Linked DNA regions of Homo sapiens: regions 1, 2, 3, 5, 6 and 7 are each linked to region 4. Evidence: promoter capture Hi-C in 16 types of primary human blood cells and fetal thymus (Javierre and others, 2016). All regions are on one chromosome and are shown on one strand. Each heading gives the region's core, a stretch centred on a gene start or on the middle of the fragment in contact. The rest is flanking DNA. Distances are from core to core; before and after follow the strand shown.

What was found. The method cuts DNA at HindIII sites, captures the fragments that hold promoters and counts their contacts. A CHiCAGO score of 5 or more calls a contact.
Region 1: a contact is called between a fragment that was not itself captured here and the fragment with the promoter of SIPA1L1 in region 4, in 13 of 17 cell types (neutrophils, naive CD8 T cells, fetal thymus and 10 more). The highest score is 23.1, in neutrophils.
Region 2: a contact is called between a fragment that was not itself captured here and the fragment with the promoter of SIPA1L1 in region 4, in 5 of 17 cell types (neutrophils, total B cells, monocytes and 2 more). The highest score is 16.8, in neutrophils.
Region 3: a contact is called between a fragment that was not itself captured here and the fragment with the promoter of SIPA1L1 in region 4, in 11 of 17 cell types (neutrophils, activated CD4 T cells, naive CD4 T cells and 8 more). The highest score is 24.0, in neutrophils.
Region 5: a fragment that was not itself captured here is called in contact with the fragment with the promoter of SIPA1L1 in region 4 in 12 of 17 cell types (neutrophils, naive CD8 T cells, activated CD4 T cells and 9 more); the score reaches 17.7 in neutrophils.
Region 6: a contact is called between a fragment that was not itself captured here and the fragment with the promoter of SIPA1L1 in region 4, in 12 of 17 cell types (neutrophils, activated CD4 T cells, total B cells and 9 more). The highest score is 20.3, in neutrophils.
Region 7: a fragment that was not itself captured here is called in contact with the fragment with the promoter of SIPA1L1 in region 4 in 1 of 17 cell types (naive CD8 T cells); the score reaches 5.0 in naive CD8 T cells.

Annotation. Positions count from the first base shown.
Region 1 is chr14:71,756,498-71,760,488 of GRCh38, reverse strand. No RefSeq gene overlaps it. Among named protein-coding and RNA genes, the nearest start is that of RGS6, 170 kb to the left of the region's middle. RefSeq lists an enhancer at 1,644-2,202. The HindIII fragment of the contact is 5,795 bases long and covers 1-3,991 here.
Region 2 is chr14:71,639,606-71,643,160 of GRCh38, reverse strand. All of the region lies in intron 7 of SIPA1L1 (signal induced proliferation associated 1 like 1), which reads right to left. Among named protein-coding and RNA genes, the nearest start is that of SNORD56B, 240 kb to the right of the region's middle. The HindIII fragment of the contact is 3,794 bases long and covers 327-3,555 here.
Region 3 is chr14:71,731,878-71,735,760 of GRCh38, reverse strand. It overlaps SIPA1L1 (signal induced proliferation associated 1 like 1), which reads right to left. Exons shown (of 24, transcript NM_001386936.1): 21 at 1,949-2,095; 22 at 370-484. LOC124903342 (a long non-coding RNA gene) reads left to right here. Exons shown (of 3, transcript XR_007064259.1): 3 at 310-836. Among named protein-coding and RNA genes, the nearest start is that of RGS6, 200 kb to the left of the region's middle. The HindIII fragment of the contact is 8,106 bases long and covers 1-3,883 here.
Region 4 is chr14:71,318,857-71,322,741 of GRCh38, reverse strand. It overlaps SIPA1L1 (signal induced proliferation associated 1 like 1), which reads right to left and starts at 2,266. Exons shown (of 24, transcript NM_001386936.1): 1 at 2,239-2,266; 2 at 1,561-1,620. It overlaps SIPA1L1-AS1 (SIPA1L1 antisense RNA 1), which reads left to right and starts at 894. Exons shown (of 4, transcript NR_184180.1): 1 at 894-1,068. RefSeq lists a silencer at 1,348-2,367 and an enhancer at 2,628-2,787. The HindIII fragment of the contact is 21,627 bases long and covers 1-3,885 here.
Region 5 is chr14:71,714,523-71,718,234 of GRCh38, reverse strand. All of the region lies in intron 17 of SIPA1L1 (signal induced proliferation associated 1 like 1), which reads right to left. Among named protein-coding and RNA genes, the nearest start is that of RGS6, 220 kb to the left of the region's middle. The HindIII fragment of the contact is 326 bases long and covers 1,461-1,786 here.
Region 6 is chr14:71,659,392-71,662,945 of GRCh38, reverse strand. SIPA1L1 (signal induced proliferation associated 1 like 1) reads right to left here. Exons shown (of 24, transcript NM_001386936.1): 10 at 1,479-1,636. Among named protein-coding and RNA genes, the nearest start is that of SNORD56B, 260 kb to the right of the region's middle. The HindIII fragment of the contact is 1,376 bases long and covers 1,040-2,415 here.
Region 7 is chr14:71,774,735-71,778,285 of GRCh38, reverse strand. No RefSeq gene overlaps it. Among named protein-coding and RNA genes, the nearest start is that of RGS6, 160 kb to the left of the region's middle. RefSeq lists an enhancer at 3,138-3,551. The HindIII fragment of the contact is 1,453 bases long and covers 1,132-2,584 here.

The DNA of each region.
Region 1 (3,991 bases), core at 504-3,003, 440 kb before region 4:
AACAGGACCACTCAGACTTTTGCTGATTTTACTGTATACCCCATACCCACCCAAGCAGGTGGTCTCTGCTGGAGTCAAGCTCTGATCCTTAGCCCAGCCCAGAATCAGAGAATGCCCTAGGGGGAAATAACAGGTAGGCATTGTCCACTTATCTCTGGACAGTTCTATCCCTTCCTGAAAATTTAGTCCATTTATCCTTGTATTATAGCTTCTGTAACTCTCTGGTGCCATTAAAAATATGACCTTTGTAATGTATCCGCTTTTTAAACTTTTTCTCAATGGACGAGTTAGCCTTCCATGACCTATCCAAAAGCATCTGGATTCACAGGTTTGGCTACGCCCATGGGTAAACCACTGCACACCCCCAAAATATATACACACGCTCTATTCCCTCACTTTGCTATATTTTCCCTTACTGGATTCTTCATTTATATAAATATTGATGGCATACCCTGATCATCCAGTTTTTGCCACTCCCCTCACCCAGTTCTCTACTAAGAATCTGTGTTCCAGTGGGGGACAGGCATTCAAGAGCTGGATCCCCCTGTGTCTGGTGGGACAGGGTTCACTGCCTGCACTGCAGAACTGGAAAGCCTCTGTCACCCTGAACACGCCAAGTGTACCTACCTGCCTGAAAGGGGTGGGATTCATGGCTTTAGAACTAGAATAGGAAAAGTTTTTTGTTTTTACCCAGACCATTTAGGAAAAGATTTAAGTAAAGAGCTGGCCAGGCACGGTGGCTCACACCTGCAATCCCAACACTTTGGGAGGCCAAAGCAAGAGGATCACTTGAGCCCAGGAGTTGGAGACCAGCCTGGGCAACATAAGGAGACAATATCCCTACAAAAAGAAATTTTTTTTTAGCTAGCCAGGCATGGTGGTGCATACCTATGATCCCAGCTAGGGAGGCTTGAGCCTGGGAGGTTGAAGCTGAAGCAAGCCTTGACTGCACCACTGTTATCTAGCCTGGATGATGGAGCAAGACCCTGTCTCAAAAAAACAAACAACAAAAAAGATTTAAGCAAAGACTTGTGGTTCAAATTTTGGCCCTTGTGTCTCAAATGAATGAGGTTTGAGTGAAATATATATATATATATATATATATATATATTTTTTTTTTTTTTTTGAGATAGGGTCTCACTTTGTCACCAAGGCTGGAGTGCAGTAGCATGATCTCAGCTCACTGCAACCTCTGCCTCCCAAGCTCAAGCAGTCATCCTACCTCAGCCTCCCAATTAGCTGGGATGACAGGTGTGCACCACCACACCCAGCTAGTTTTTTGTGCTTTTGGTAGAGATGACGTTTCACCACGTTGCTCGGCTGGTCTCGAACTCCTGAGCTCAGGCGATCCACCCACCTTGGCCTCCCGAAGTGCTGGGATTACAGGTGTGAGCTGCCGCCCCCGGCCTGAAATATTTTTTTAATGGGAGATTTCAGTTCATCTCTCCACCCCAAAAAATCTAGATTTCTGTTGTTTCTTTACCAAGTGGTCCAGTAACCGGGCTCTGTTTCACATGGCAGCATTCAGCTGCAGATGCCACTCTAGGTGGGACATGTCCTCTCCAGAGGGGCCTGGGGCAAGGCAGGTGAGGGACCCAGGTGCTAAATGCCTGTGGTCTTGCTCTCAGAGCCATGCAAGCACATCGTCGGCTTTTGCACCTCCAGGAGCGAATGCCTCCTACAAGTTCACACAGCGGCCTCCCTCGAGGCCCAGCTCTGCTCTCCAGTGTCTCGCCTGTTTAACTCCCTTGTGACTGCAGCCTGCCTGGCCCCTGTGGGCACGGACAAAGCTGAATGAGCGACTCAGGCTCCTGCAAGCCAGAAGTCAATGGTGGCCCCTAGCACACACCTGCTCCTCTTGTCACAACAGCAGATACGGTAACTCAGAAAAGCTCATTCTGCAAACTTCCTGCTTTCCTTCACTGCTGCTTAAATGTAGTGTTTATATTATTGTAATTAAAAACAACTTCATTATCCAGTGGGAGAGTAATTCTGTGCCCCTTTACAGCATTCTGAGTCTTCCCTATATGGCTCAAATATGCCTCAAACAAGAAACCAGTTGCTAGGGGACCAGCAGGCAAACTTCAAGAGACAGGTGGTTTCTGCCTTTTCTCTCAACTTCTCTATCCAATCCCAGCCCAGGCCAGCCTATCGGTACATTTAGAAAAAAGAAAAATAGAAAACACACACACCGCCCCTCTTCCATAACTTCAAAGGAGACTTTGCATGTGTTATTAGGGAAATCACGAAAGTGGTTTTGAACACAGAATAAAATATGATGACAACGTTTAAACTTGTACCCGTTAACTCTGCTGTCTGGCTTCTTTAGGACACCAGCATGATGTGCTGGTAGAGAAACTCGTATGATATTGTAAGGGCTTTTTTCCTTTTTCATTTCATGTTCCTTCTGCTGGAAATATGAGGGTGGTAGGTTGGACCACAGAAAGAAACCTAAAAAAAAAATTAAAGAACCAAAAATTATTCTATACTAAATTTGCAATGTAAAGCATCGACTTGGTTGGTCAGATAGCCTGTATCTTTTAAAAGATATGGAAGTTCAATTAAATAATAAAAACATTAAAATATTCACAAAGAAAATATGCAACACCAATAAGAGATTATAAAATGTCATGTGCCGCAGGCATGTCTAATTTGTTCTTTTAGTGGCAGGCAGTAAACACGATGTTGAGAAATTTAGATTCGGTCTCTAAGTTGGCAGAAGTCCCTTAGAATAGCACCGTTGTGAACAGGAACCCCCCCAGCATCCTGGGCTAAGGATACTGTGATCTTTTCAGCATTTCCTGAAGTTTTCTGTCTGGAATAGGCTGACCCTGGTATTATCCTGGGACCTCTTCTTTATGCCTGAAATAGCCAGAAAGACTGAAGGCTCAGTCCAGCTTGTGAAGACCAAAATGCTTACTATTTAGCCCTCTATATAAACACCTCTGCTTTAAATCAACACCCAAAGTTGAGATGTTTTTTAGTTCTTCACTTAAAAATATTTTTTACAATATTTGTAAAACCAATTAACTACCTTCACTATTTTCAATGCCCTTGTTTTCTTCTGGTAGTTCAGTGATGTATACATAATACATGTTAGTGATTCAATGTGTCTTTTATCTCTAGAATGATCTAGTTGATTTGGATATATTATATGCATGATTTCTTTTCTCACTGTATTACTCATAACAATCTTGTTCTGAATTCTCCATTCTGGAAAGGGACTATTTCTTTAATTTTCAGCCTGTTTCAGCCATTTTCGCATCAAATTTCAAAATTATTTCTAGTAAGTTTTAAGATTATTCCTTGTTTTCTGTAAATATTCTGTAAATAATCTGTGGTTATCATCAAAAACATCACTTACTTAGCTAAACATTGAACACATAATATTATTTCAGGCCTTCACACCTATTTCCTTGTCTTTGTTGAAACCTTTGACCTTGGCTGTTTATCAAGTCTTCCTTTGTCAGTTTAGTAATGGTGTGAGTGCTTTTTTGATATGCAAGCCTGCTCACTTTTATTAGTGTTTCCACTTGTTAAAAATGTATGCAGTCAGCTGGGCGCAGTGGTTCACGCCTGTAATCCCAGCACTTTGGGAGGCTGAGGTGTGCGGATCACAAGGTAAGGAGTTCAAGATCATCCTGGCTAACATGGTGAAACCCGGTCTCTACTAAAAATACAAAAAAAAAAAAATAGCTGGGCGTGGTGGCGGGCACCTGTAATCCCAGCTACTTGGGAGGCTAAGGCAGGAGAATCTCTTGAACCTGGGAAGTGAAGGTTGCAGTGAGCTGAGATCGCGCCACTGCACTCCAGCCTGGGTGACAAAGCGAGACTCCGCCTAAAAAAAAAAAAAAAAAAAAAAAAAAAAGCATGCAGTCCATTTCTCTGAAGATTTTCTTTCTTTTCTCTTTTCAATCTTTTTTATTTTCAGAGCTCCACTGCCATATTTTCTATTTTTATTATTTTGACTTATTCACATATTATCCAGGAC
Region 2 (3,555 bases), core at 974-3,473, 320 kb before region 4:
CATGCTTCTTATTCTTAGGGCTCATTGAGTTTCTTGGGTCTGCTTGCATCATATGTGGAAAATCTGGAACTATTTCCTCAACTACTTTTTCAGGTAGTTCCTAACTCCTCTGGGGTCTCCAATTATATGAATATTAGGTCAGGTGAAGTTGTCTCACAGTATATTGATGTTGGGTTTTTTGTTTTTTTTTTTTTGGCAATTGTTTCTATTGCTATGTCATCAAGTTCACTAATCCTTTCTTCGACAATGTCTAATCTGCTGTTAATTCTGTCCAGTGTACTTTTCAACTCAGATATTGTAGCTTTCATATCCATAAATACAAAGCTTTTCTTTTTCCAGATTTCTACTTAATGTTCAATCTTTCCTCCTGCTTCTTAAACATTAAAAAGACATCAGAGTCATTTTTGTGGTTTTAATTGTTTAATTATTTTATCCCCTCCCCAACTATAGGTCATATGCTCCTGCTTGTAGTTTTTAATTAAATGATTGACTGTCAGACATTATGAATATTACCTTGTTGGGTGCTGGATATTGTTGTATTCCTATAAAGTATTTTTGACTTTGTTCTGGATTCATAGTTAAATTACTTGGCAAGAGTTTGAGCCTTGTAGTTCTTGCTTTTAAACTCTTGGTTGTACGACAGCAGTGTTTAGTCTAAGGATAATTCTGCCCCACTATTGAGGCAAAAGCATTGTGAGGCTCTACTCAATGCCATGTCAATTATGAAGTTTTCCAGTCTGGTTTGTAGGAGTTGAAACTATTCGCACCAGAGGTAGACTGTTTACGGCTCTCTCCTCCCTGATTCTCTGTGCTCTGCGAATTCTAGCCTCCCTGGACTCACATCTCAATCTCAATCAGGGAGGCTTCTGGCCTTTAACTGGGTACCCCCTGCCTGTACTGTAGCCTGGAAACTCTCTTCAGGCAGAAAGCTGGTGCAATCTTAGGGTTCACCTCATTTGTTTCCCATCTCCCAAGCAATCAATGTCCTTCAATGCCTGATGTCCAACATTATAAAAACCATTGTTTCATTGTTTTGTCTAGTTTTTAAGTTGTTTCAGGTGGAAAGTTAAATGCAGTCCCTCTTACTTAATCTTAGCAAGAAGCAGAAATTTGCCTTCAGTTTTTAAATCAACTTTATTGATGTATGATTTCTGAAGAGTAAATGCAAGGCGTATAATTTAATAACTTCTGACAAACCCCCAACACAATCAAAATACAGAACACTGCCATTACCCCAATAGCTCCTGGTTCCTCTTTGCAGTCCATCCCTGCATCATCTAACAGCTTCAGGCAACCACTGTACTAATTTTGTTTTTTTTACTATAAATTAGTTTTGCCTACATTTTAAAGAAAATTTTTGGTGTAAAATCCATTGTGAGGGTTACTCTTTCAGCACTTTAGAAATGTCTTCTGCCTTCTACTTTTTTTGTTTGTTTTTGAGACGGAGTCTCGCTCTATCACCCAGGCTGGAGTGCAGTGGCTCCATCTCGGCTCACTGCAAGCTCCGCCTCCCAGGTTCACACCATTCTCCTGCCTCAGCCTCCAGAGTAGCTGGTACTACAGGAACCTGCCACCACACCCAGCTAATTTTTTTGTGTTTTTAGTAGAGATGGGGCTTCACTGTATTAGCCAGGATGGTCTCGATCTCCTGACCTCGTGATCTGCCCGCCTCGGCCTCCCAAAGTGCTGGGATTACAGGCATGAGCCACCACGCCCGGCCTCTACTTTTTCTTTAGGCTTTATAGCCCAGCAAATGTTTAACAGTCTTGTTGTTCTTTAAAGGTATTTTTCCATCTGGCTATTTTTAAAGATTTTTCTCTTTTTCTTTTATTTTCAGCAATTTTTACTATGAGCCTATATTTGATTTTTTTTTTTTTTTTAGATTATCTTGTTTAGGGTGGACAGAACTCCTTGTTTTTATCTTAATGCTTGTCTTTCATCAGTTCTGGAAATCTCTACCAGCATTTCCTCAAATACTGCTTTTATTCCCAAATAATGCATAAATATCTTCTCTTCTGGAAATTCAATCATATATATATTTTGCTGTTACCCACATGCCTTTCAGACATTTTTCTGTATTTTTCTATGTTTTCTTGTCTCCGTTCTTTAGTTAAAATTTTTCTGGTAATCTGTCTTCATCAGTTCTCTCTCCTACTGTGTCCAGTATGTTCTTAAACATATCTACTTTTAAATGAGTCTAACTTTAGGGGTTTTTTAGTTTTAGAGTTTCAATATAGGCTGGGTGTGGTGGCTCATGCCTGTAATCCCAGCACTTTGGAAGGCCAAGGCAGGTGGATCACTTGAGGTCAGGAGTTCGAGACCAGCTTGGCCAACACAGTGAAACCCCGTTTCTACTAAAAATACAAAAGTTAGCCGGGCGTAGGGGCACACACTTGTAATCCCAGCTCTGCGGGAGGCTGAGGCACAAGAATCACTTAAACTCAGGAGGCGGAGGTTGCAGTGAGCCAAGACTGCACCACTGCACTCCAGCCTGGGCAATAGTGTGAGACTCCGTCTCAAAGAAGAAGAAAAAAAATGAATTTCAATATAATTGTTTTACAGATTTGAGTTCTCTAGTAAGCCTTGAATTCAATTTGTAACCTCCAAAGCCCTATACAAGCTCTGATTTGATCTGATCACTGAAAGCTCTGATCTGTCTCCTAACTTTTTATCTGCTGCTTTATGCTAGATGGAAAAGCCCCAAGATTCTTAACCTATCAGCAAATGTCTAAGAGAAAAAGCACTGTAAGATATTGTTAATCTTGATAGACTACAATTTCTCAAATTTTTTTTTTCTTTCTAGATCAAGCTCTTGGTGCCACATCTAAGAATTCTTAACCAAGCTGAAGGTCCCAAAGATTTTCTCCTATGTTTTTCTCAAAAAAATTTAATACTTGTAGATTTCAATCTATGATCCATTTGAATTAATTGTTGATGCTTAAAAGTCAAGGTTTAGGCCGGGGGCCTGGTGGCTCACACCTGTAATCCCAGCACTTTGGGAGGCTGAGGTGGGCAGATCACTTGAGATCAGGAGTTTGAGACCAGCTTGGCCAACATGGTGAAACCCCGTCTCTACTAAAAATACAAAAATTAGCCGGGTGTGGTGGTATGCACCTGTAATTCCAGCTACTCGGGAGACTGAGGCACGAGAATTGCTTGAATCTGGGAGGCGGAGGTTGCAGTAAGCCAAGATCATGCCACTGCACTCCAGCCTGGGCAACAGAGCAAGACTCAGTCTCAAAAAAACAAAAAAACAAAAAAACCCAAAAAGTCAAGGTTCATTATTTTGTTTATGGATGTCCAGTTGTCCCAGTACTGTTGGAAAAGCCTATCCTTCCTCCACTGAATTACTTTTACACCTATGCCAAAAATGAGCTAGATATATTTGTGTGGGGCTATTTCTGGTTTCTCTATTCTGTTCCACCGATCCACATGTCTATCTTTCCAGCAATGCCACACAGTCTTGACTACTGGAGCTATATAACATGTCTTGAAATCAGACAGAATAACTTCTCCCACATTAATTCCTCTTTCTCAGATTGTTTTAGGTATTCC
Region 3 (3,883 bases), core at 524-3,023, 410 kb before region 4:
TGACCATCAGCAACACTGCGAAAGAGACTGAAAACCCAGACTGCAGGACTACACAGCACAGAGCACAGGAATACTTAGAGCAAATGGTCTCTCCTACCTGCCCCAACTGGCCCTGAGGGCATAAATGTATTATGACATTAAATAATAATGAATATTCATCATTATGGCCGTATAAGTCATCAAGAATAGTTTAATTATGTCTACAGTATTCAGTTACAAAGCGTTCTGACTAAAATGTAAAGTGTCTAGCCCTGCAGTGATCAGCTTCACTCAGCTACTCCGTGTGGCTTCCATCTCTTCTCCCCACAGATGCAGTCAGTGGCAGATGTGACACAAGGTGCAGAGTACTGCCCTTGCACTGGGACCAACCTGCTGTAAGGCTTCATCTGGGCCAGAGCCTGGTCCTCCAGCTGATCACTGTTGGATGCAGCACTCAAGGGGCGATGGTTTTCATCACTAGCAGCAAAAAATGAGGCTCTCTGGACTGGAAAGGAGAGAAGAAACCATTTAGTATTTTGGAACCACATCCCTGGCCCTATCTATCAAAGTCAACAAGTGGTCTAGTTGGCAGTCATGTCTAGTATTTCCAGTGCAGGATGCACTGGAAATCTTATTTCCCAACCCTCACAGGGAAAAATATGACTGTTTTAGCTATAAGAGGATTGTAGCCATGTAATTTCCCTTTAAGAAACATTTGTGAGTCAATTTCTAGTCCCCCCTCTTCCCTGCTCATCACTGTAGCATTCTATGAAATGTTTCTCTGGAAACAGTCCTTGTGCCAAATTTCCAGACCAAGGCTTTCCACTCAGCAATGAAATAAATGCGTTCGAGAGCTAGCATTATGCTTAAAACTTCTTGAAGTATGTTTTCCACCACAAGATTCCTGGACACTCTGGTTGGCTTTAACATAAATCCATACCACCTGTATTCCAAAACATACCAAGTTAAAATTTAAGCCAAGAAAACTAAATCAAATTTAAAATAATCTCCCATTAGAAACCAAAACTTCTACCATTTGTATATGAAGGAGATTAACCAACACACTGAAAAATCAAGTTAGAACTGGGAATTTCCATCTGCTAAATAAACAGCATGAAGGTAAAAGGATTCACTGCTGACCATTCCATGGTTGCCCGACGTACAGATTCTGTGGCCTAGTACATTTCTCCCCAAAATTAAAACTTGACTAAATAGCAATTTTCAATTCTCCTAATTAAGAGCAACAACAACAACAAAAACAGAAAAAAAAATCACCTGCTATAAGTTTGTAAAGAATAATAAAAATTTTAGAAAGATCTTTAAACTTAGAAAAAAGTCAGTCTTCATTCAAAAAACAAAAACCCCAGCTGACAATCTTATGTCAACACACACATACTGCACTACTTTTTGTGTTTTCATTACAGCAGGCAAGATCAGCACCAGTCTGAGGACCTGCATTTAAGAACCGCCAGCCTAAAGCGAGCACACGGCCAGCAGGCTGGCAAGGAGACAATGCAGACAGACAACGCGCTACCGCGCACGGAGATGAGGGAGAACGGCAAAGGGGGCGCCCCACATTTGTGAGGATAGGCGCGTGGCCAAGCAGGGCAGGCACTGTGACATTTAGCAACAATGTCTTGCGACGTGATGAAAGATCCTCTCTGGATACATGTTCTTTTTAGTCAAGGGACAGCTGGGATTCCTCTACCCATTGCCCTTCCCATATACGGAGGAGGCGAGGCATTCATGTTATGAATCCTGTGGAGGAAACACCAGGTGGCATCTGATTACATAAAACATGTGCCTAGGTGTCCAGCTTAGGGTCTGGTCCCTACTGAATGCTCAGTAACTGATAGCTCATCTGGTGAGGCACATATGTTTTGAGTGTGTCCAGAGAAGTAGAGTGGATGGAGACTGCTCACTCCGCTGCAGGATCCTGGGCTGTCTTGTGTGGATTCAGTGGACTCACCCTCATAGGCTTTGGCAGCATCTACCAGGTTGGACCAATCCAAGTCTGCAGCAGTGTCAGGCAGGGGCATCAGGCCAGGGTCGGGCATAGGCTGCCTGCGGGTCTCCTGGATGTCAGTGAGGGAGCTGTCCGAGGCTGAGAACTCTCCTGCGGGAAGGGAGGAGGAATGAGATGCTTCTTGTGCCTGTGGAAGAGCCACTCAAAACTTACCTCTTTCCTGTTACCACAATAGATTGTAAGCCATTTGTGACTGTTATCAATGTCCAGGTTAGCAGGCTGTTAGTGGCTATTCTAAAGCTGACTTGAAATAGGAATCGGCTTCCTCTAGTCTGCCTTCATTTTTTCACAACCTCCCATCATCTCCCTTCCAGCAGTGAGTCATGGCAAAGTTAGTTTTGCATGGAGGCACTAAGTCTGCTTTTGTGAGAGCTGTCTGTCCACAGCAGGGCCTAGGCAGCACTAGCATCTACTTTCCTGCACAGAGTCAAGGGATTTGGGCCAGGAAGAAGAGGCCTACTTCAACAGGGAGCTGGATTTTGGAGCCAGACCAGGGATGTTTCTTCCTACTAGAGGGGACAATAGGGCTTATTTTTTTATTTTTTGAGACATATTCTCACTCTGTAGCCCAGGCTGGAGTGCAGTGGCATGATCTCGGCTCATTGCAACCTCTGCCTCCAGGGTTCAAGCAATTCTCCTGCTTCAGCCTCCCAAGTAGCTAGGACTAAAGGTATGTGCCACCATGCCCGGCTAATTTTTGTATTTTTAGTAGAGACGGGGTTTCACTATGTTGGCCAGGCTGGTCTTGAACTCCTGACCTCGTAATCCGCCTGCCTCAGCCTCCCAAAGTGCTAGGATTACAGGCGTGAGCCACCACGCCCAGTTTAATAGGGTTTATTTTTATCTGGCCCGGGAGTGGTAAGGGACAGAAGGCCCATGCCTGCCCTCTCTGCTGTTGAGGGGCAGCCCACTGGGTTCCATGGTCAAAGGTGTCCAAGGGGGTGTGAGGGGCACATCAAGGGATGTGAGTGTGCTGGGTTACTCAGACAGAGCTAAGACAGGAAGGTGATTTTAGGGGTGGAACTGGCATTATTCTTCTCTAGGATGCAGTCATCACACGAGCTATTCTTTGGACCAATTTTGGGTTGCAGCAGTCTAACATCCCAAGCTCTTCCTAAGGGGACATTTTGTTGAATACAAATATTAAACCATTGTAACAACAAACTGACATATTAACAACTAAGATCTGCTTGGCAGGGAGGACTGGGCAGAGTGAGCCACCCTGAACACTGAAGGCAGCTCCTATTGCTCAGGTTCATGCAGGCAGATAACAGGAAGGGCGGGCTGCTGGGGTCCAGGGGAAACGACGCTCATGACATAGAAATGCCCTCAGTAGGCAGAAGCTGGGTGGAAGCCAGGGCAGAGCACACCACTCCACGAGAAGGAGCACCCTTGGAAGGTGACTGCGACACTCAGGTCCATGCAAACACACAGCTAAAGCTAAATGCTCAGCTAGAATATTTAAGTGACTCCAGAAAGACCTGTTTACCAGGAGTTAAAGATTTTCATGTATTATGACAGCCCGGTAAGCCAGTGTATTAAATGCTTTGTTTTCCCTTTCAAATTACGAAAAGAACTTCTCTGAAGTACAGCTGCTGGTTATTACTGTGCTCAAAATTAGCAAAATCATGAGTAAATGGAAGTTAACAAACACTGCAAGATATTAAATGTTCAGTTCTACTTAAATGTGCTCCTACCAAGGGTAAGTAGGAGGGGAGATAATTCTGTGTGTAACTCACAACCCTTCTGCCCTTTTATCTCTGGGGCCCGAATTTCCATGTGGGGGATAAAAGAAGTCACCCTTCCTCATCCCCCAAACACATTTCAGTGGAAGTCACCAAGCAAGGCAGGGCTGAGGGATCAGCCCAATGAGGACTG
Region 4 (3,885 bases), core at 1,017-3,516:
ATAAGAAAATTAGTTGTCAGAGACATAAAGCCATTCATCCCCCAAATCTCTTATTTTGCCTCTAACCATTTATGTGGAAACAATCACTCATCATTTTAAATGCACTGTTAATTGTTAATGCTTTAGCATAATTGATTCCATGGGAAAAATGTTTTAATATTAATATTGTAGTTAATAACTGGGATGTCATCTAATAGTTGGACACATCGGTGGCCATAATAAATTAGCTGAGACCTACTGTTATTACCACTGTTCCATATTATCCTCTTTTTTAAATCCTGGTAAAGGTAGCTTAATTGCAGCTTTCAAAAAACGAAGAGAAAAATGACAGTCGTTAAATCAGGATTATATAGAAAACTAATATTATTACTAAACTGGCTGCAGAATTCAGTATGATCTAACCTTGCACGTTTCCAAAAGATTCAGTCAGAGAATCTTTGCCTTGGACGGATACTCCATAGGAGAAAACAGGAGAAAGTTGACACTTAACTCCCACAGAGTACCAGCATAAAGACAATGGCTTTAAGAGTCTGACTCAGAGTTTCAACATGAAAGGTTTGCTTTATAGAGGAAACGCCAATCCCAGTCCATCCAGATAGACCTGGAACCTGATGAAAGTCGACACCTTTATTCTGAAATTTGCATCACATCGCTGGCTCCAGTTTAGAAACATGATCGTTTCACAGGTAGTATGCATTTCAGCGAATGCTGCCTCTAAACTACCCGTCAGGAAAAATAAAATCTATAAGGTAATCGTAGTCTAGGAGCCATCAATCCCCAAATGCTTCTCTTAGAAAACGAATGCCAACAATTTAGCTAAACATCTTCCTTGGAAGTGAGCCATTTCCCATGTCTCTCTGTTCTCCAAACCGCGATGAAATTTCAACCTGCCCAACACGATTACTGGTCCACCTAGAAATGCCGTGGAGCGATTTAAGAGCCTCGGAAATTTCCTTTAAGGTCAGGAGAGAAGCTGGTAACAGATGGGGCGAAGGAGGAAAAGTTCTTTTTGCGGCACCCTCACGCCTTCCCAGCCCTTTCGCGGTTTACTCGCTCCCCGGAAAGCAGGTTAGAGCATCCCAAAATTTCATGTCCCCAAGACCCCCAAAGGGGAAATTAACCACCCTCGGGCACCGAGCTGTTCGTCTCCATTTCCCACAACTCAACCAACTCGGCCTGCCTACTCCAGCTCAGGCTGCAAAGCGCTCACCCAGGTGACTGGAGGGGAAGGGTCGCCAGGTGGCGACCAGCTCAGCGGGGTGGACGCAACCGCCCGGACCGGGACGCGGGTCTCCTGGCCTCCCGCAGAGACGCCTGCCCAGTAGTTGTGCAGATTCGGGTTCTGGGGTGCGTGCGCGCGCGCCGGGCGCGGTGAAGCCGGACTCGCCCCCGCCGGGCTAAGCTACCAGCAAGCCACCAAATCGAAAATCAAACTTTAACCGGCCTCCTGGGGTCCTGCTCCGGGCCCTGGACCCCAACCCCGGCCAGAAACAGGGCAGGGGGCTGTCAGCCGTCCTGCACCCCCGCTCCCCCCAGGACCCGGGCGCGGGGACCACTTACCGCTCGGCCCGGCCTCCCGGTGCCGCCGCGCGTCCCGGGCGCGTCCGCCGCGCGCTCTCCCTGGGGAGAAAGAGAAACCGTGTAGACGGCCGGCGCGCGCTCACTCGCCGCCTCCTCTGCGGAGAGCGGCGAGGCCGGCCCGAGGCGGGCGCCGAGCGCGGAGCGGAGGGGGGCCCGAGGGAGGCGGGGGTGGAATCAGCCCAATTCCCGAGGCTGGCTCCGAGGGGGACCCGGAATACAGGCTGGCGGGGGGCCGGCGGGGGCCGAGCTCCCGGAGGAGGGGAAGGCGGAGGTGGCCCCGTCCTTGGGCATCAACTATTGTCTAGGCGCCCGGGCCCCCGCTCGCGCCGTCCCCGAGGCTCAGCGCCCCCATCCCGCCCGCCAGCAGAAAGAACTGAGGGGGCGGCCAGTACGGGAAGCAAGTGCGGGGGTCCGGGCTCCGAAGGTCCAAGGTGGGCGCGAGGTTGCCGGGGGGGGGATGAGGAGGTGCGTACCGCATGGGGGAGGGGACAGGTAAGTGCGGACGGGGGCGGGAAGGCCCCAACGACCGGTGGGGGAGGAAATGGGGAGGGAGCCACAGAGGCGGGAGGGAATGGAGTGGCTGCGGGGGCGGCCTCTGGGGCCCAGACCTGGCCCTCCCCGGGGACCCTCCAGCCGGGGACTCGGCGCTGCACTGACTTTTCGCTCACTCGCTCACGCACGCACTGAACTCGCTCACAAAGTTGCCGGCAGTGGCGGCGCCTCACTCGCCCTTCCCCTCCCCGCCCCGCCTCCCGCCCCATTCCTTCCCCTCCTTCACTCCTCCCTCTCCCCCAAGTCTCGGGTGAGATCACCACGGAGCGGCTTAGCGCGGCGCACAAGTCTCGCGAGAGAAGCGGCGGCTGGGCCCTGCAGGCGGAGGAAGTGGAAAAAGTCGCGGGAGGGTAGGGGACCGCGGAACTTCTGGTTGCTATGACGACGGCAAAGCCCTGGATTCCTGTCTCCTGCGGAGAGCAGAGGCTGCAAACGTGGGTGCAGTTTTCAACCTGCCCGGCGCACTGGCGGTGGGGAAAGCTAGGGGTGGTTGCGGAAGGATAATTTTTAAGCCGATTCAAGAGGGCATCTCGAGAGGACCACAGTCATGATATCTGGCCAAATTTGGCAAATGAGACTAATGTATTAAGAGGTTCTGGGACAGGTTTCTGCCTTTCTAGGCAGCACATATCTGCACCCCAAATTTCTACTATATATTCAGTTTTTCGGCCTTCTCTTTCAATCTAATTCCTCCATCCCCACACTCCCCATGCTGCCTCCCTCCTCCTCTTCTCAACTCGCAAACACACGCAGACTGGGCTCCTTCAGGAACTGGCTCATTCATCTCTGTATTCTCAGCGCCTCTATAGGCTTGGTCCATACTACATATTGGCCACTTTTTTGACAAGTTGAACGCAACAGTCCATGCCTGTCCTCAGTACTTGCCTTTGGCCCTAACCTAGAGAGTTCAGTCAAGTTTGGACTCTATCAAGCTACCCTCCCATTTCTGTTAACACCTTGTCTTTTTCAATGGTAATAATCTCTGCTTTCTCCATATTTTTCTCGTAAAAACCCTATTCACCATGGTGAGGGGAACTTTTTTTTTAATCATTAGGCATCCGCAGACGCCTTTATACGTACTCCAAAATGCTAGTAAGGATGAAGATGAACTCTCCTCAGCCCGTGTCTTTTAACTGTAGAAACTTTTCTGAGGTGAGGGTTATTATATACTCACTGCCTAAGTAAAATGGATATTATGAATAGAAGTTAAACTTTAGATTTCAAAATGAATGAGTAAAAATAGATACCATTGTATGTGGATTATATCTCAATTTTTAAAATTCCTATCCATGAACATGGGGAAACCATTATTTAACTCAGTCCCACAGAACTAGAAACCTAAAGCATAACCTAAGCATATGAGGACTAGGCAGTCAAAACTTGTAAGTCACTTGCAAGTTTAAATCCTGTCAATGAAAGTTTGTGTATTAGAAACCTAAGTGATACTAGACAAAGTCAGCAAACTAGGGTTTACGTTTTTCTGTGCCACTAATAATTGAGTCTCCTTGAGAAGTTATTTAATCTCTCTGATTCTTCATCTGTGGGGGGTACCCCACATGTTAGGTTATTACAGCTTTAAAATTCTATAGCTGGCCGGCATGGTGGCTCACATGCATAATCCCAGCACTTTGGGAGGCCCAGGTGGGAAGACTGCTTGAAGCCAGGAGTTTGAGACTATCCTGGGCAACATAGAGAGACCCTGTATCTACAAAAATAAAAAATATTAGCTAGGTATACTGACATGCACCTGTA
Region 5 (3,712 bases), core at 374-2,873, 400 kb before region 4:
AGGGCCTCTAATTCAGTGGGCCTGTGAGCGTCACCTGGGAGCTCTTCTAAAGCATACTTTCTTGTGTCCCAATCCTAGATATTTAATTTAGTAAAGGAGGAATGATGCCTGGAAGATTAGGTAAAATGTCCTCCAAGTGTTCACACCAACTGAGGCCTACTGCTCACTCTCATCCAGTTGAATTACACACATTGTTATGACGGTCAAAATCCAGTTCCATATTGTCTAGGTGAAGAAGGTGAAGTCGCGGCAGCAGTGTTTCTCAAGCCACAGAACATGGCCACCTGTAGGTACTGATGTAACTGGGGAATCCTGGGCTTGTGTTAGATCTTCCAGAGCCCCAGAAATCTGTATTTTAACACACTTCCAAAGTATTCTCATGTTTTTTTGGGTTGAAGAAATACTGCATTAGCCCCTCAACTCCTCCCACTCTAAAATGAGTCTGTCTCTGGGCACAGCTGTGGGTGGGCTCCTTGCAGCTGACCAACCCACTGGCCTGAGACTGCGTCAAGGGATGTGCACCCATACACTTCACCTAAGAATCTCTGAAGTAGATTAAATTACAATACAACTACCATGAAGCTATCAGCTTCATAATTTTTAAGGGGAGCTGTGTGGCTGGGCTCTTTCATTATCCTGGAAATTTCATGTTAATTTAATAGGCTGCAATTTCATTTTACTCACAGAGAGTTAAATCTTGTCATAGGAATTACGTAAGAAGGGAATGAACCAATAATATCTAACAAAAGGAAAAGAGCATTAGATGTAACAGGAAATAATAACTGCAATATGTTACTTTTCTCAATGTATAAGAAGTGAGTTTAACTGAGTATGGCCAAATTGGAATCACTAGAAATTTACTCAAGTTGTCTCTAAATTCTACATGAAGAAACTACTAACTTTAATTTTTCTATAAGCTATAGGGCATTTCTCCTTTCCTAAAAAGGAACAACCTTAGATTCTGTCTGGTCATGTCAGGATATTAATTTTGAAAAGGAAGAGAGGATACACAAGTACATGATACCCCATATAAAAGAGGTCGGGCGCAGTGGCTCACACCTGTAATCCCAGCACTTTGGGAGGCCGAGGTGGGTGGATCATGAGGTCAGGAAATTGAGACCATCCTGGCCAACAAGGTAAAACCCCGTCTCTACTAAAATACAAGAAATTAGCCGGGCGTGAAGGCATGCACCTGTAGTCCCAGCTACTCGGGAGGCTGAGGCAAGGGAATCACTTGAACCTGGGCGGCAGAGGTTGCAGTGAGCCAAGATCGTGCTACTGCACTCCAGCCTGGCAAGAGAGCCAGACTGTTTCAAAAAGAAGAGAGGTAGTGAGGTCACCGAGGATCTGGGACAGCCTGAATCTGTCCAAACTTCTCATCTTGACCTGATGCTCAAATGAAACCATGGATCACGTGTACAGCAACCTGGTGATTTTACATTCCCAGCTGTGGCGAAGCTTTATAGGAGGGGATGCTAGATGACCAATCTGCAAAAAAGATGCTACTCTCAGCGGGTGCTGCTTTAAGGAGGACCTACATCTATTTGCTGACTTTGCCAAGCGATGAGCCACACAGGATTGGGAAGCCTGAATGTCATCAGTCAAGGCCCAGAGTGCTGAACCTATGAGGCCTGGGGAGACCACTGTGAATTCCTGCATCGTCACTGAGATCATCATATCCTGTGAAAAACATCTGCCAGCCACTGTCTGTGTTGTAGAAAGCTGCTGATGGGAAAACTTGGAGTCATCTACTATTTAGGAATGGCAAGGGGGTTTTAGACAAGCTTGGCCTGCTAAAGATGGTATTTTCAGGAAGCAGAGAGAAGCAATTAGTCACCTGTCAAATGGCTGTGGCAAAATCTGGGCAATGGCTGAATGCTGGTCTAATACCAAGGAGAGGAGAGCTGATCGGGTTTCCTGTGATTGCTTGTACAAATAACAAGCCTTTGGGTGACAGATAATGTGGAGGATAATGATTAAGGAGGACTCCTCCCACTGTGTTCAGCACTAGCCAGTTCTGTACTCTATCCAATAGAGTACCGTACGGAACACAATTTAGAAGACACTAATTCCAAAGGACTGGGGGAAAACAAGTGAAGTAGGGATGATTAAGTTGACAAAGAAGATATCCAAGTGACTGCAGTAAAGAAAAATTGTCCATCTATAAAAGGCAGAAATTTAACAGTATAAGGGCATATTAATACATACAGCATAGGGAAATGAGTGGCCAGCTATATGCAGCAGTAGAAGCCTCAGGGATCACCGTGGACCACAAGCTGAAAAGCCTGTAACGCTAAGCTATTTAATAAGGGGCTAACAAGATATCTATGAACATTATCATTTTATTGGGCATAGCTGAGAAGAGTGTCATGTCCAAGTTTTGCATCTAAAAAGGATAAAGAAAACAAAGCCAGATGCTTGAGAAGAGAAAATATGATTATAGGATGAAACACACAAAGTGTAGTTATAAGAGCTGTGGGAGATACCTGCTTGTTAAAAGAAAAGTCACTAGAAAATTGTTAAGGCAGGTGATGAAGAGCTTACAAAAGGAAATGACAAAAAACCTTTGGTCTTAAAATGACATTTACAGTTTGCAATACATTTGATAATCTTTTTTATTTTCAACAGACATGTAAAAACAGCCATTTAGTAGGTGGAACAGGATTTTGGTTTGGTGGTACTAGGCTATGCTAATGTGTATGACATGGCACATTACCAGCTGCAGGCTTTATCCATTAGCCACTGAGTTTCTGACCTGCTGTCTATTGTGTAGAATCTGAACAAGCTGACTGCTGAAATGCAGTTTGCTGGCCAGTGAACTGAAAGATGCAATAGTAAGCCATCTTCATTTGTCACCATGTGCTTGTATCTGTTTAATTTGTGCACCTTAAAATCCTATGGTGTATTCCATGGCCAATATGCCATCTCCTAGATTACAGATGAGGGACAAGCCAGGTGAAATGGTACAACTGGCCACAGGCCACATAGCTGACCAATGGTAGAACTGAGACTTGAACCAGGGTCTCAGGCTCCAAATCTATTTTCCTTATGTTCCTCTCCCAACTTGCCTGGGGGTAGAGAGCTATACCAAATTTTCCTTCTTTCTTTTTTTGCAAATGACCACGTTATAGTCAATAATCTATATCCAATAACTAGGTTAAGGCAAGCAGGGCCAACACATGTTCTCAGAATCTTAGATGTCAAAAATCTTCATGTTTAGAAAACACTCAGCTCATAAAAAGACATTTATTCTCTCTTAATTGTGTATTTGAGCTGTAGCTAGAGGAATGGAATTAAATATTGAAAAGGGAGAGGACTTATTATATACTGAAATTATTTAGAAAAGTTGTGTGGGCCAGGCTCAGTGGCTCATGCCGGTAATTCCTGCACTATGGGAGGCCAAGGTGAGAGGACTGCCTGAGCACAGGAGTATGAGACCAGCCTGGGCAACATGATGAGACCCTGTCTCTATAAAAATATTAAAAATTAGCTTAGCATAGTGGTGCATGCCTATAGTCCCAGATACTCAGGAGGCTAAGGTGGGAGGATCACTTGAGCCCAGAAGGTTGAGGCTATAGTGAGCTGCAGGGCCACCACTGAACTCTAGCCTGAGTGACAGAATGAGGGACCCTGTCTTTAAAAAAAAAAAGAGAGAAAAGCTGTGAAATCTCTTGAGATTATTTCCCTCCCCACTGCCCCAATAAAACAATTG
Region 6 (3,554 bases), core at 478-2,977, 340 kb before region 4:
GTGGTATGAAATCCTTTGCATGAATCTAGTACATAGCATGTTTTAACTGCTCAGAGTATTTTCTAAATGCAAATAGTTATCCATCCCAATTATAGTCAATTGTTCTGTGCTTTCATTCTACAACTAACCAGAGCAGCTCTCAGACACCATTTCCTTGATAAGAGGTTTCAGATCTAGGTCTTCATTGTTGGGGGTTCTGCCCCAACCCTAGGAAACTACAGACCTCCCTGGTCTTGGGTGTTCACCTAGGCTCAGCACCTGAAAAGTTCTGGAACAGCCTCTGTGTTGGGAGCTCGGAGTGAAAAACCCAGCTTTCCCAGCATGTAAGAGAGGCGGCATAGCAGCGTGGTTAAGAGACTGGGCTCTAGAATCAAACTGACTGCATTCCTGTCTAATTCTGCTCAACACTAGCCAGCTAACCTGAGGCAAGTGACCTGGCTGAAATTTCATCATCTGAAAATGGAGATAAAAGCAGTACCTACCTCATAGGTTTTAAAGATTAAATGGGATATACATGTAAGATGTCTAGAATAGTTTGGGGCTTATAACAAGAGCTCAACCAATGCAGTTATTAGGATATGTGCAAGGATGGTGACAGCCAGCAGGAGACCAACATAACCTCTACTTGTTTTTTTTCCCTAAGCTACGCTTACTCTACTCCTAGAATTAATCTGCCTTACTCCTAGAAATATACAATTGTGGATCTCACAAACTGTCAATGTGCACAGGTCACTTTCTATGCAGGTAACATTTTTTAGGGATGGAAAGATACGCCAAATGTCCATATTTTGAAAGGAACTGATGCACATTAAAAACATCTTACAAATGCCAGAACATTACCCTTACACATTCTGGCACTACACCCCTATCGAGCTAGCGTGACAGGTCCCTATCTCCTTCAACTCCTAACTCTAGTATTCTTACAAGAAAGGTCTCTGCAGATAGAGGCCTGAATTCTGATACTCATGTGACTACGTCAACAAGTAACACTGAAACAATTTCAATAATGCTAAATAAAGTATAGAAGCGTTTCTAAGCTTGTAGTCAGAGTGCTAACGTGAATCAAGTAAGTCAGAGGCAAGGATTTAGGCTTCTTTAATAACAATGCTTTTCAAAAAATTAACTTCTCTTCCCTATTTATTATAATCGTTCTTCTCTGCTCTTGCCATGCCAAAAGAAAAATATAATTAGCAATATGAGTAATTAGTTGGTTGGTGACCAGATGGTATGGATGAAGGACATCACCTAAGAAGGAGGTGCAAATGGAAACGGCAGGTGTCTAACCAACATGCTTGGGTAATGTCAATGCCACCAGATTACATCATCATGTGAATTCAGCCATCCGCATGCATGGTTTAAAGACAAAAAGAAATAGTAATAGACTTCCCATTGCCACTTTAGAATGCAGAGCTGAATGGGGCCTCTATGCGATAACCAGCCAACATCCACAGAGCCCCTGCTGTGACACCCATACACACCTATAACAGACACTGTCAGAGCACGGATTGTGCACCCTGACGATGACGAAAACGTGCTGGAAGTGGGATCGGATGTTTTTTGGGCTGAATGGCTGTGCTCCAGGCTCTTGGAAAACAATTGTTACGATATCATTTCCAATGTGCCGCTTCCTCAGGAGCTACAAGAAAAAATAAGCAACCAACATAAATAACAATCATTTGCTTCCCCCGCCACCCCAATTCCCTTATATAGCTGTATTTAAAACATCCATTCCTAATCAGTACACATGAAGGTAGGTAATCTACACAGGTACTGTCAATGTTTTCACCTGCCTTATTCCCTCTAAGGAAGAACATAGAAACGAACATTCTGAAATTTGCATAAAAGATACAGCCATTCAAATAGATCTACCCAATATCTGGCATATTATGCCAGGTCCCAACATCACCAAACCCTCAGTTTCTATAACAACAGTGTTGTTCCATTTTCACATAAGAAAAACACGTGCCACAGGGAAGATTTTTAGAGATGAGAATGGCTGAAATAATTACAATGTAATTTATGTTCTGGTTTAACTGGCCTCATTGAAAGAAAATGTGGCTAAGGTGTTTTCTGATATATGTTTTGTGTCACAAGCTGGGCATGTAGAAAAGAATAATATTCCAGAATGTTGCAACAATTAAAAGCAGGTAAATTTCAGGTTTAAACAGCTTCTTTAACTGCAATGAAAGCTGCTTAGGGACACCCTCTGTTTCACATTCACTGGGTTTTGGATGGGTGGCTTTCAAACTCAGGCACCCCAAATCATCCTAGGTCAGTGCCTTTCAGCAGTTAATTCAATAGTGTAAAGGAAAACCAAACAAAATTTGTGTTTCTCAAACTTACTGTACGGAGGCTCTTAAAAAAGAAAAACAACTAAGTGTGACATTTATATAAACTATCCATTAGACATAAGCTTGTACTTACAAAACTTGTATTTAAAAAAATATTCTCTGGTGACATTAAGGCATACAAATTGCAAACCAGTAAAATCAGTGATCTAGTATTGGCTGCCAGGTGGGAGAAATAATAGCCTTTTAGATTAGGGTTGCAAATTGGGAGTTAGAATGTTCAGGAAATGCACTTTTAACCTCAGGAATTTGAAAGCATCCCAAATTGTCTTCTAATGAAGCAATTTATTTCTGAGTTCATTTCTAAATATGATATACAAACAGACGTTATGAAAATAAAGGCTGGTGTGTATTGATTGCTCTACAGAACATACCAATAATTAAAGATTATTAATCTACTCAAGATCTTGGACATACCAAAAACAAATACTATTTATCTACATGTTATGCCATTCCTGCATAAATGATGTCATTTTCTGTAATATTATTCATTCTTCAAAATATGGCTTGACATATAAAAATAAATGTCTTAATAAAGGACCCAAATAGAAACAAATCCATTTTTCCATCTTATACTACATATAATGAAAAATATTTTATTAAAAATATTTGCAAAAGAATTTTTAAAGATACATTTTTCCTGGTTTTTTTTTCCAAGCATAAAGTAATCTACATAGAGGAAAATAAATTTTTTGGCTAGAGAGTGAAAATTTTTTCATATGTTGCAGTACCAATTTCTTTCTCATTCTGATTTAAGACTGTAACATTTTTGCCTTGATTGGACTCCAAAATTAAATAATTGAGAGAGCTGCCATTTAAATGCCCACTTTCTCTGCCTACCACTTCAACTCATTTAGTTACAAATAATCAATCCAATCTTGTTAGTAAATTTTTTACCCTTACAAATCTCATCTTTCTCTTCTAAGTGATCAGGCAGAATAAGCCTTTATGCTCTCTTTAAGGATCATTTTGTTAATGTTCTTAAATTTTTTATCTACTGACTGGTCAGAATAAGTTTATTATGCCTTTCTTAGCATGGTGTTTTTCTTTCAAAGAGAGCTAAAATCTGGAATTTGCATAAAACAAATTATCAACAAAGTACAGATCAGGGAGTTTATCTTAAAACAGGTTTACTTCAGATTTATAGCTGATTCATTGCTTTGCTCTCTATTTTTTATTACACTGGCAATCATGAAAGGCAAAACT
Region 7 (3,551 bases), core at 609-3,108, 460 kb before region 4:
CTGTAGTCCCAGCTACTTGGGAGGCTGAGGCAGGAGAATGGCGTGAACCCGGGAGGTGGAGCTTGCAGTGAGCCGAGATTGTGCCACTGCACTCCAACCTGGGTGACAGAGCGAGACTCCGTCTCAAAAAAAAAAAAGAAAGGTGGAGGCTTAGTTAGCAAACTCCACAATGTAAACAAAGAACCTGTGCTAGCAGAGGGATTGGTGGTTTTAATGAAAGCTAGGAGGTTGGAGACAAATGCGACTGCTGAAGAGGCGGCTTCTGCCCTTCCTGTCTGATGTGTCTTCAGTATTGGAAGCAGATGCATCAGGCTGTGGGTTTGATGACAGTAACCACTGAAGTCAACCAACTACCCCACCTTGTCCTGAAATTGGCTCCCAAAGCAGCCTTTTGTTTGTAATTCATGGTTGCAAATGAGAAATGTTCTGGCAGGTTTGTCTTACACAATGATTTTTAAAACTTTTATAAATTAGTTGCTAATATTTATAAATCAGGAAATGACTCCTATAAATCTGAATCTCCAACTTCTGAAAAATCAGAAGGTCTGGCCACATCAAACCCTGAGTAGCAAGAATTAGGTGGAGATTATATTGGCTGCATATTTTAGAAGGGGAATAGAGTCCCCTGTTCAGCCCACTCCCAACAACTCCCTTTCACCTCACACCTGCTCAATTCATTTCTTTACCTACCTTGCTTCATAGGCATTTTCAGTTTTCTATCCCTCCAGAGAGCCAACGTGCTAATTAGCTGATATAGTATGTTGACTGTTATGTTTCTTGCTCCAAATTAGTGAATTGTTACTGAGGCTTTTGCATTTGTGTCTTGTCAGTTTGACTAGTGTGAGTCAGTACTTTGGGCCTCTTCACCTCTGAACACACAAACCAAAATCAAATGTATGGACCTGCTCAGGCTGAGGCTCAGGCTCTGCCTGACTTCCCAAGAGATCCGCTCTCAGCTGACGCTAACTATTCTCTGATTAGCACTCTTCAACTTACCAATTGTCTTCATGGATTCCTCAAAGCACAGAGAACAAACTGTCAAACAATGTCTGAAGGGCAGCACAATCATTCACCAGCTGAGTTGCAAATAAGACACTGACCCAGTTAATCTGTGAACCTACTGCAGAAGCTTGGGAAAGCTCTGCTGGTTTATGATTGTCCTTGAAGGACTCAGGCTTAGATGTCGCCTCTTTGTCTTGCGCATAACAAAGGCCAATGGAAATTGCTATCGACAGACTCATTCCTGCCTTGGTTCCCTTGCCATCTCTTTGTGGCTTCCTTCATTAGCTCTTTTTTCTTCTCAGAGAAAGTCCATGACCTTGGAGGTCTGCATTTCCTTTCTGAATCTGCGCCATCACCGCTGTAATGGAATGAGTGTGTCTTTCTGCTACCCCAGGATCTGTGGCCAAACAGAAACCACAGATGCCCTCTCAGCTTGTCGCCTATCTTTCTTGTTTCATCTCAGCTGGAAAGGGTCTTTGCAATTCACACTTTTTTTTCCTCTTCTCACATCAGAGCAAAAGCAAACATTAATTTAAAGAGCATCTTTTTATAATAAGAAAAACCTTCGACTTTCAACACAACCAGAAAGGAAGCCATTTGTCCATGCCGAGAATGAGCTATCAGCATGTGCTCAGTATTACTTCTCCACTGGGGGTGATAGATACACACTGAGCCATCTGTACTTCTCCACCAGTTCTCAGGACCAATGCTTGGCATTTGCAAGTCACATTAGGAGGATTATTTGTGGCCAGACACTGAAGCTAACAGGTTTAAGGACAGACTAAACCCTTGGCTTCATTACTGTTGCTCCAACCACTACAGTGACTAGCCCAGACATCCATGCACCTTCACAGGCAAAATATCTCAGTCACTTCTCTTTTTCTTTACAGTAAGAAAATAAATATGAGGCCAGGCACGGTGGGTCACACCTGTAATCCCAGCACTTTGGGAGGCCGAGGAGGGCGGATCATTTGAGGTCAGGAGTTCGAGACCAGCCTGGCCAACATGGTGAAACCCTATCTCTACTAAAAATATAAATATTAGCTGGGCATGGTGGCACACGCTAGTAATCCCAGCTACTCAGGAGACTGAGGTAGAAGAATCACTTTAACCCAGGAGGCGGAGTTTGCAGTGAGCTGAGATGGAGCCACCGCACTCCAACCTGGACAACACAGCGAGACTCTGTCTCAAAAAAAAAAAAAAAAAGAAAAAAGAAAAGAAATATTGAAAATGATATACTCTTCTTTGTGTAGAAAATAACCTTGTATTGTATTCTACAAGTGGGAGGTAGAAATGTCTGCAGTGTGTACTGCTATGTTAATAGATTTTTCTGACAATGTCAGGTTGATTATCCACCTAAGGTATGGTCTATAAATCTGCTTACTGCCCATCCTTCCCCTGGAGAAGCCTAAGAATAAAAGGAGCTTGAAGAAAGCAGCTCTCAACAGCCTCAGGGAACTGCTACTTTGCTTACATTTCTATGGCTCTTCCTGAGTCCCCATGTGTGAAGTCTTTATTTCTTAGATATGCTTGGGACACAGCCATTGCCTTATTTGCTCAAAAGGCTCAGGACCAAGAAGCTTAAGAAAAGTCAAGGAACTCGTAGTTAAAAGGAAGTTGGAAGTTTTCTCTGAGCCCTTGTGACCTTGAGATCCATAAAGGAGTTAAATGTCCATTTGTCTGAAAGGTAAGAATTTAAATGTCTTTGACTTCAGAAAATTAGATGTGCCTTCACATCTTTTCATAAGTAACTTCACAGCTGTAGAAACCTCTAAAGAGAGATAACATACGTTTCCCTTCTCTTCAAAATGTCCACACAAAGGTTCTTCTTCCATGGTTTGAAATTTCTCAAATCTTCACCTTTCCATTTGAAAGTGAGTATGACCAGGTTATCCAAAAACAGGGAAGCATATGGGTAGGACCACTCAGACCTGATCCCCACTTTCCAGTGTGAACCCCAAATATCCGAGACAGGTCTCAGTTAATTTAGAAAGTTTATTTTGCCAAGGTTGAGGATGCACGCCTGTGACACAGCCTCAGGAGGTCCTGACGATGTGTGCCCAAGGTGGTCAGAGCACAGTTTGGTTTTATACATTTTAGGGAGACATGAAACATCAATCAAGATATGAAAGATGAACATTGGTTCAGTCTGGAAAGGCAGGACAACTCGAAGCAGGAAGGGGGCTTCCAGGTCATAGATAGGTGAGAGACAAACAGTTGCATTCTTTTGAGTTTCTGATTAGCCTCTCCAAAGAAGGCAACCAGATATGCATTTATCTCAGTGAGCAGAGGGGTGACTTTGAATAGAATGGGAGGCAGGTTCCCAGCTTGAATTTTCCCTTTATCTTAGTGATTTGGGGGGGCCAAGATTTATTTTCCTTTCACACCAGGATGAGACAAGGGAGCATCTCTTAAAGCTAGAAAGAGCTAGCTTGGTAGCAAATAGAAGATTGAAACTCTAGAAATATAGTAGGTGCTGAAATCAATAGAAATGAATGATTGAAATAATAACCAAGCCAATAACAAACAGGTGAACAAATAAACATCTG